Linked DNA regions of Homo sapiens: region 1 is linked to region 2. The links are contacts of gene promoters, found by promoter capture Hi-C in human tissues and cell types (Jung and others, 2019). All regions are on one chromosome and are shown on one strand. The core of a region is centred on a gene start or on the middle of the fragment in contact, and the rest is flanking DNA. Distances in the headings are between cores, read along the strand shown. Region 1 overlaps TNPO3 (transportin 3). Region 2 holds the start of SMO (smoothened, frizzled class receptor).

Region 1 (4,324 bases), core at 1,341-3,840, 230 kb before region 2:
CATGGATGTATCTTATGTCAAAGCTTATCAAAGTGTATACCTTAAACACATGCAAATTATGTTAATGATACTTCAATAAAGTTTTTTTTTTTAAAGACCAATAAATCTGCAGGTCAGGAAACTGTCTACTTGGGTGGCCATAGTAGAAAAACCATACCACACTGTTTAACTGAAAGAGTAACCCAACTCCCTTTCCCACTGAGGCTACACAAAAGGGTAAAATGTAAGCGTGATGAGCTTTGGTGTGAATTAGGAGAATAAAAAGTGCAGAATGAACCACTTCCCTGAAGTCTGAAGGGTCTGTGGCATCAGGGCAGGGGCCTGCCCTTTCAACTCCATCCCCAGATGTCTATCAGGTACCAAAGGCTGCTTCCATAGCTAGTCTAGCTGAACCATTTCCGAGCTACAAGGCAGTGAATGAAAGTAAAAACAAAGAAACACTGGTTAAATTTTAAAAATTTATTCTTTCTCTTTTGTTGCTGTTGATTTGTTCTTGAGATGGCTACAACACCAGACAGAACAGTGCCCTCATATCTGATGGCTGTGAAGGGCTGCACTCCTTTGAAACATTAAGATCTGCTTTGGGCTTCCCTCTTCGGCCTCACCCTCCCCTTAAAATCAAGTCATTTCCACACTTTTTAGTAACATACTAAATGACACATCATCCCTTGTTAGCCCTGTAAACATTTTTTCTCCACACACCCTCCCTCTTTTTTTCTCTCATGTCTGTGGGTGAATAATTCACTAAGAAAAAAACCTTAAAAAACAAAAACTTACACATTTATATCCTGCACTCCCCACCCACCCGCCCACCCCAGTTTTGGCTCTTCTCTCCAAGGCAGACAACAAACTGATGTGGATTGGAAGTGGACTGAGAGAATGAACGGGGTCAGGGTTCAGATATCCATAAATTCTGACCCTGGCAGGTCCCGAGCATCACCAATGTGACCACGATAGAAAGCAGAACAAGTTCCTTGCTTACTCCTCCTTGTCTAAACAACTCTAAAGGTGGGAAGAAACAGCTGGGGAAGGTAGAAGAAATTTCTACTCATTTGCATTTAAAAGGAGGGGAGAGAGAAAGAGAAGGAAGGGTAGGAGAGGAAAGAGAGGACAAAACAATAGAAAACCTGAACAAATGACCCTGACCCTCTTCTTCCAATTGCAGCTATTTAATTCATGTGAATCCCCACATTATCCCTAAGTAAATATTTTGTTTCACAGAAAGCTTGTCCTTTTGTTTTTCTGTGTACACGTGCGCACTGGCGCTTGTGCGTGTATGTGTGTGTGCGTGCATGTGTCATTTGCTACCAGGTGAATGTTTCAGTTCTGGTTTCTGTTTAGTCTTCCTTTTTTTTCTTTTTTCTTTACTTAAAATTATTTTTCCTTTTAGAAAGTTCACCAGGAAACCAGCTCCCCTCCCACCACGCCGGGCAGGCCACAGCCATCTTTTTAAAATCCGCGCTGATTTTCCCTCACACCCCCAAACAGGAACTCCTCAGGATGGCCTCAGAAGGCTGGAGTCTCTCCCTGTCTGGCGGGACACCCTGGTGGCGGTGAAGGCCCCTCTGCCACAACGGAGGTTTCTGATTGTGGGACACAGTCTGGTTTTTGTTTTCTTCCTGTCTTCTAATTAAAAAAGACATTCCTGACAAAAGAGATAAGACAGTCAATAACTGCACCAGAAAATAGAGCATTTAGTAAAATCAACCTTAAGGCAGAGGTTTCTATATTTCCTCAGGTACCTCATTCTGAAGTCTGCCAATAAGAACTCAGAAAAAATAAACAAATAAATAAAAGTCTGGCGTTTTAACTTGTGGGTTCAAGGGAGCTACTGCTTTAATGAGACACCGTCTGCAGTGTGCTTCCAATGCTGAGTGTGCTGTGGAAACAAGGGATGATGTGTCAGGAGGGCAAAGAGCCAGCAGGTCCAGGCCTCCCATTCCAAAGCAACCAGGGAAGCTTTGCCTCAGTCTGCTAAATCCCACAGGCTTCATGTCGATTTTATTTTGAAAGAAGGCTTTGCCTACTAATAACAGTTGAAAACAAAACAAAACAAAACACCAATTTAGATGCTATCGAAAGGATACTGTATTAAGCGGAGTGGTTCAAAGTGAGGACTCTGGTACCAGAATATCTACATGTGAATTCTGGCTCCACGAATAACTGTCAGGCAAATTGTTAAACATTGTTGAACCTCAATTTCCTCATTTGTAAAATGGGAAAAATAGTAACAAATCCAGAAAAGCAGATGAGGATTATCTTAGTTAATACATCTAAAACACTTAAAACAGTGCCCTGACACACAGTAAGGGCACAATAAAAGTTAACCATGAACACCTACAGCTGTCCATGAGCAACCTTATGAGGTGTATCAATGTCAGCTAACCCAGACACCATGCAAAACCAGGACATCCCAAATGATATTATTACTCATTAAAACAATCAAAGTTGAGAAATGATTTTGGGTGTGGCAAGGCACTGCTGAACATCACTTTTACCTATGAATGCATTTAACACAGAAACTACCAGTGAGTGCTACAGATTCATCAAGAATTGCCTCCTGGGAGAAGAAACTCACCTTGAGACATCAAAGGGTGGGCTTAGAGGAGAGCTACCTTTCTTCTCTCCATCAAGAAACTGGCACCCAAATTCTACTACCCACTCCTTTCAGCTAAGCTTCTTGCTTTGCTTCAGAACCAGGAGACGGAAAGCACGTGGAGAAAAGTGCTCATCGGGAGCCAAAGATGCTCCTCCTCTCCTGTAAGGGCCAAGCATCCCTAACAGCTGAAACTTTTTGAACGCTGATATGACCCTCAAGCGAATGAGCATTGGAGCATTTTGGATTTTGGATTTTTGGATTAGGAATGCTCAACTGGTGTGCATTCTGCAAATATTCCAAAATCCCAAAAAATCCAAAATTGAAAAACACTTCTGAAAGTGTTTTTTCCTCCGAAATCCCAAGCATTTCGGATAAGGGATATTCAATTCATACCTCCTGCCCTGGTCAAAACCTGGCACTTCAGCATTCAGGTCATAAAAGTGATAAGAATAAGCTCTTTGCTCATTACATCTGGAGGGTCAGTTTTAGGAGACTGGCACCACATATAACAGTCAACTTGAGGTTGTTTTCGCCAAAGTGGCCAGGTTAAAAATACTTATTTGTTTGTTGCCATGTACACTTACCATCTTAGAAGTGTCTGTAAGGGGAAGGGGGAAGAAAATGTTTCAATGCACTGTGTAACAGTTACTTTCTTATGGAGGTGAAAATGGTACCCCAAAGACACTGACAATTACTGGCTGCCCAGGCCCAAGAAAATCCGGGCCCTGTATATTCCAGCTGTTCACCACAGTTAAACTGCTGAGTCCTTCCCTGACTCTAGCTATAAGACTGGTCCCATGATAGGCATTAAAACCTATCCCCATTCCCAGGCATCCCCAACAGTCCGACAGTCCGGACAAAAGCTGGGAACTATGTATCCTCACCTGGGTGACAGGCACAGTGCAGGAGTGTGAGCTATCGAAACAACCTGGTGAAGTCTCGCAAGGCCCAGCAAACTTGTTTACATTCCTCAGCACTAGAAAAGAAAAGGTAGGTTGGTCCTTGACTGAGGAGAAAGACAGAATATGCTGAAAAACAACTGCAACATTGGGGCACACTGAGAACCGTCCCAACTCTGCTAGGAGCTCTCTCCATCGTCTCCTGAGCGATCCTGGCTTCAGATCTTTCTGTAATTCAGGGCAAAAATTATTATATATGAGAAAAGTTATAAGCTTGGTGGTCTTCAAAGGGTGTACTCTGGACACAAACTGCCCGAGTTTGAATCTTGGCTCCACTGTGCCCTTGAACAAGTTACCAATCTTTGTCTCAGTTTCCTCATCTATTAATATTATCTACTTCATAACACTGTTTAGAGGATTAAAATCGTCCACATACAGAGTGCTTATGAAAATAGAGCAGTGAACAAAATAGTATTCAATAAATGTAGGCTGCTACAACAACACTTGGTTGCTACGGCTCTCATAAGTTTCCTCATTCTCTTCCAAAGATAGATTTTGTTTACAAAGGCCGGTCTAGCAACTAAGTCTCCACCAGTCATTGATTTTCTAGTTGAACAGGCTGCTCAGGATTTCCTCCTGTGGGAGGAGGAGGGAGAGAGGAAAGGGTTAAAGCATGTAGAAAGAGAGACAAAGCAGGAGATGCCTATGTGATATGAATAGCCCAATATTCAACTGACCCTGTTTTTTCAAAAGCCCCCCGACCTCCCTTTGTCCAAAACTGTCACCAAGAAACCAGCTGATGCCAGCTTCATTCTACTGTATCTGT
Region 2 (4,291 bases), core at 1,750-4,249:
GGAGCACATGTGTGCATGAGTGTACACACACACACACACAAACACACACACACACAGAATTGAGAACTTATGGTATATTCTCCCCTCAAGAAGGGAAGAGCATTCTGGCTGGAAGATAGTGTCTTAGGATAGCCTCAATTTACCTCTGCTATCTCCAATGTGAAGGTATTATATTCCCACAATGCGAATCTTCCTCATACTTCCTGAGAAACCTCACACAAGAAATGGGAGAGCCTATATCCTTGAAGAATTACCTACTGACATTTGGAGTAGAGAAATAAGGGCCTGCCTGAGCACATGTGTAAGTTCTTCCCTAATACATGAAATATTAGGAAAATCCCACAGGGCTTCGAGACTGCCACAACCAGATATTTTACTCTTGCTCACTCAGGAAGGTAAAGAGAAAAGCAAAAACAAACAAAACAACACACACACACAATCAAATAGAAAATAAGTGCAGATAGTTCACAAAGCAAAGCATCGGGTGTGCTATCAGGCTCCAAGGCAGCTTTCTCTACAGCTTGGACTTAGACATGTTATAACAGCCATTTTATTATGTCACAGAAAGAAATAACTGAAGTAGGTCATAACATTTCAAATTATTTTTCCAGTAGGAATATTATGCCCTGATGACATAGTCTAGTTTCACTTCTTCCATAAGTCACCAGAGACTTTCCTTAAAATGGTCCCTTGTCTCCAGCCTCTTGCACTTCATGCCATCCTCATGTTGCCTTATGTATTAGTCTGTTCTCGCATTGCTATAAAGAAATACCTGAGACTGGTCAGGTGCAGTGGCTCACACCTGTAATCACAGCACTTTGGAAGGCTGAGGTGGGTGGATCACTTGAGGTCAGGAATTTGAGACCAGCCGGGGCAACATGGTGAAACCTCGTCTCTACTAAAAATACAAAAATTAGCCTGGCGTGGTGGCATGTGCCTGTAATCCCAGCTACTCAGGAGGCTGAGGCAGGATAATCATTTGAACCTGGGAGGTGGAGGTTGAGGTGAGCCGAGATCACACTGCTGTGCTCTGAGATCACACCACTGTGCTCCAGCCTGGGCGACAGAGCGTGACTCCGTCTGAAAAAAAAAAAAAATACCTCAGACTGGGTAATTTATAAAGAAAAGAAGTTTAATTGGGTCACAGTTCAGCAGGCTATACAGGAATCATAGCAGCTTCTGCTCCTGGAGAAGCCTCAGGAAACTTCTAATCATGGTGGAAGGCAAAGGGGGAGCGAGACATCTTACATGGCAGGAGCAGGAGGAAGAAGCGGGGAGGTGCCAAACCCTTTAAACAATCCTCGTGAGAACTCACTCATTATCGTGAGAGCAGCACGAGGAGGATGGTGCTAAACCATTCATGAGAAACTGCCTCCGTGATCCAGTTACCTCCCACCAGGCCTCACCTCCAACACTGAGGATTACAATTCAACATGAGATTGGGTGGGGATGCAGATCCAAACCATATCACCTAATATTAACCAGTAAAGATTAATATCATTCCCCTAGTCAAAACTTTGAGATTTCCTTACTATCAAGAGAATTGACCCTTAATTCTGTGTGTTATTTGAGGCTTCTTACCAATCAGTTTCCCTACTTATCTATGTCCTTATTCTAACTCCTCCTACTCACACTTTAGTCCTGGATTCAAAACCCACCTCCTCCACTTCTATCCACACTGACCTCTGTCCCCTATTCCTATAGCATACTCACGGTACATCTCATTTTGGCAGCTTATTTATCAAGTGATTACTATGTATGCTCAAGTGAACTAGATGTTTTGTGAACACTAAGAGAATGAGATAAGGTCCCTGACCTGAAGGAGGGAACGTTGCTGTTCTGTCATGCTATGTTTCCTGAGAGCAAGCCATGTATCCACAGGAAAATGGAAGTCTACAGGTTCCTCCAGGATGTCTCTGTGCTATGTACATGCTGGAATTTCAGAAAGACTTGCTAAATTGAATTAAATTCTCTCTCTCTCTCCAATTGATATAGTTGAAGTGCAATAACTAATATGCACTTAAACTGTCCAAAGTAACAGAACTAGTCCACTACCGCTAGGCCATGAGCAAGTCTTCCAGGGGTAAGAAAGGAAAACCCACCCTGGTGTGCAGCCCGATCAGCAACAAGGAAAAAGTTGCTCAGTGCAAGTCTACTCTCCTGTTTGGAGCCTTGTGGTTATGCTGGGTTATACTTGGTTGTGCAGGTGTAAACTGCTGAAGTGGGAAATTAAGTGTGGTGACCAAAAGTGTGATGCTCAAAGGAGTGAGGAAAGGCAAAATGAGCAGAGTGGGGAAGAGGAGCAGCAGAAACCTCCCAGAGCAGATGAGCAGCAGGGCCATCAAAGAAGGACTGGTTTCCTTCTCACATAACCAAGGCCAGTCCCTGGGAACCACAGTTCAGACTTCACATATTTGTAGCAGTAAAGGCTTGATGTTGGCAAGTTTATTTCCCAGACACCTGTTCCCGCAGGTAACAGCAGCCAGAGCAGCTGCCGTGAGTGACTCTGAGGTCGTCTCTCTCAAAGGTCCCGAGCTGGAAGGATTTGGAGAAGCGCAAACCCCAAACCCAGGTTCTTCTCCATGGGGCCCCGGGATACGTTGGAAAATCTAACCAAAGCAGGAAAAACTGGCGGGCCTGGAGAACGGGGCAGAGATGGAACAGAAGTCCCCGTTGACTTCAGGCATCCCCTGTCTTTCCCATCCTGAGCCAGGAGAAAAGTCCGCTTCCTGCAGACGACCTCAGACCAAGCAAGGTGCCCGCCGAGTCTCTCCTTGCAGGTCCGGCCCACGATTTCCACTCATCTCTTTCCCCCGGGCGCGGGGCGGCGGCAGGCGGGGTCACCAGATCCCCCTAGCCCGGGCCCCTCCAGGCGCCAGGGACGCTGACGCTCGCGCTCTTCCTCTCTCGCCTCCCCTCCCCACCTCTCCGCTCCTTCGTCCAGTCCCTCCCCCAGCCTCGGCGCAGGGGGGCCGGGCTTGGCTCCGCGAGGCCCGTGCATTCCAGAGAGCCCAGCGAGCTAGAGCAACAAAGGAGCCGGGTCGCCGGCGGGGAGAGTTCGGGGGGCTGCGGCGCGCTGGGGCGAAGGTGGCTGCTGGGCCGCGGGCTGGCGCGGGGGCGGAGCCGGAGCTGCACTCGCACCCCCGGCCCGCGTCTGGCCTCCCTCGCGGGGCGGGGAGGTGGCTTTAATGGTGGGAGAGGGAATGGGGCTGGGGATTGGGGGCCCAGGGGTCTCCTAGGGCTGAAGACAACTTGGATTGCGAGGCTAGGGCTTGGGGAGTCGTGCATCCCGTTCCGGGCCTCCGCAGCCCAACATGGGCCCCGGGTTCCAAAGTTTGCGAAGTTGGGCGCCGAGGGGCCGGGGCGCGCGGAGCGTCCGGGGGGGCCCGGGCCCGGATTCTCTGGGCGCACAGGTCGCCTGAGCCGCCTCCGCGGCCGCCGAGGTCGTGCGTGTGGCCGGGGGGCTCCGAGGAGCAGGCGGGGGCGCCGGGGCTTTTGCTGAGTTGGCGGGGTTGGCCATGGCCGCTGCCCGCCCAGCGCGGGGGCCGGAGCTCCCGCTCCTGGGGCTGCTGCTGCTGCTGCTGCTGGGGGACCCGGGCCGGGGGGCGGCCTCGAGCGGGAACGCGACCGGGCCTGGGCCTCGGAGCGCGGGCGGGAGCGCGAGGAGGAGCGCGGCGGTGACTGGCCCTCCGCCGCCGCTGAGCCACTGCGGCCGGGCTGCCCCCTGCGAGCCGCTGCGCTACAACGTGTGCCTGGGCTCGGTGCTGCCCTACGGGGCCACCTCCACACTGCTGGCCGGAGACTCGGACTCCCAGGAGGAAGCGCACGGCAAGCTCGTGCTCTGGTCGGGTAAGTGCGGCGGAGCCGGGTCTGGGGGGCGGGAGGTGCCGCGGTAAGATGGGGGCACCCTTGGAAAGAACAGGCTCAGGCCTGAGTTTTGGAGAGGGCGGGGACAGCACCCGGGAGAGTTGGAGGGACAGATCCCGAAACTTTGGGGGCAGGTTACGTGCAGGATGGGACCCTCGGTCATGGGAAAAGGAGGGCAAGGAAGTTGACGAAGCGGGTCACAAAGGGCCTGAGCTGGTGGGTGAGCAAAGGATGGCGGGGATGAGGGGCCCGTGAGGAGGTGGCTCTAAGCCACGGGAAAAGACATTTTGTAAGAAGAGGAGATGCTCCACCTATTCTGGAAGCAGGGTGCCGGGGGATTCAAGGAGGTGTTGAAGACCCTGGGGAAATTGGAGTTGGAGAGGAAAAGGGGAGGGATGACGGAGGAAGAGGTTTAGACATTTGG

The links. Contacts are between HindIII fragments. The study calls those that stand out against the background at their distance.
Region 1: a contact is called between a fragment that was not itself captured here and the fragment with the promoter of SMO in region 2, in 2 of the 25 tissues and cell types used here (lymphoblastoid cells and pancreas).

Annotation. Positions count from the first base shown.
Region 1 is chr7:128,953,741-128,958,064 of GRCh38, forward strand. It overlaps TNPO3 (transportin 3), which reads right to left. Exons shown (of 23, transcript NM_012470.4): 22 at 3,484-3,575; 23 at 445-1,645. The coding sequence ends at 3,515. Among named protein-coding and RNA genes, the nearest start is that of IRF5, 18 kb to the left of the region's middle. The HindIII fragment of the contact is 3,933 bases long and covers 625-4,324 here.
Region 2 is chr7:129,185,634-129,189,924 of GRCh38, forward strand. It overlaps SMO (smoothened, frizzled class receptor), which reads left to right and starts at 3,000. Exons shown (of 12, transcript NM_005631.5): 1 at 3,000-3,849. The coding sequence starts at 3,519. RefSeq lists an enhancer at 2,218-2,307 and silencers at 2,937-3,206, 3,437-3,696. The HindIII fragment of the contact is 17,880 bases long and covers 1-4,291 here.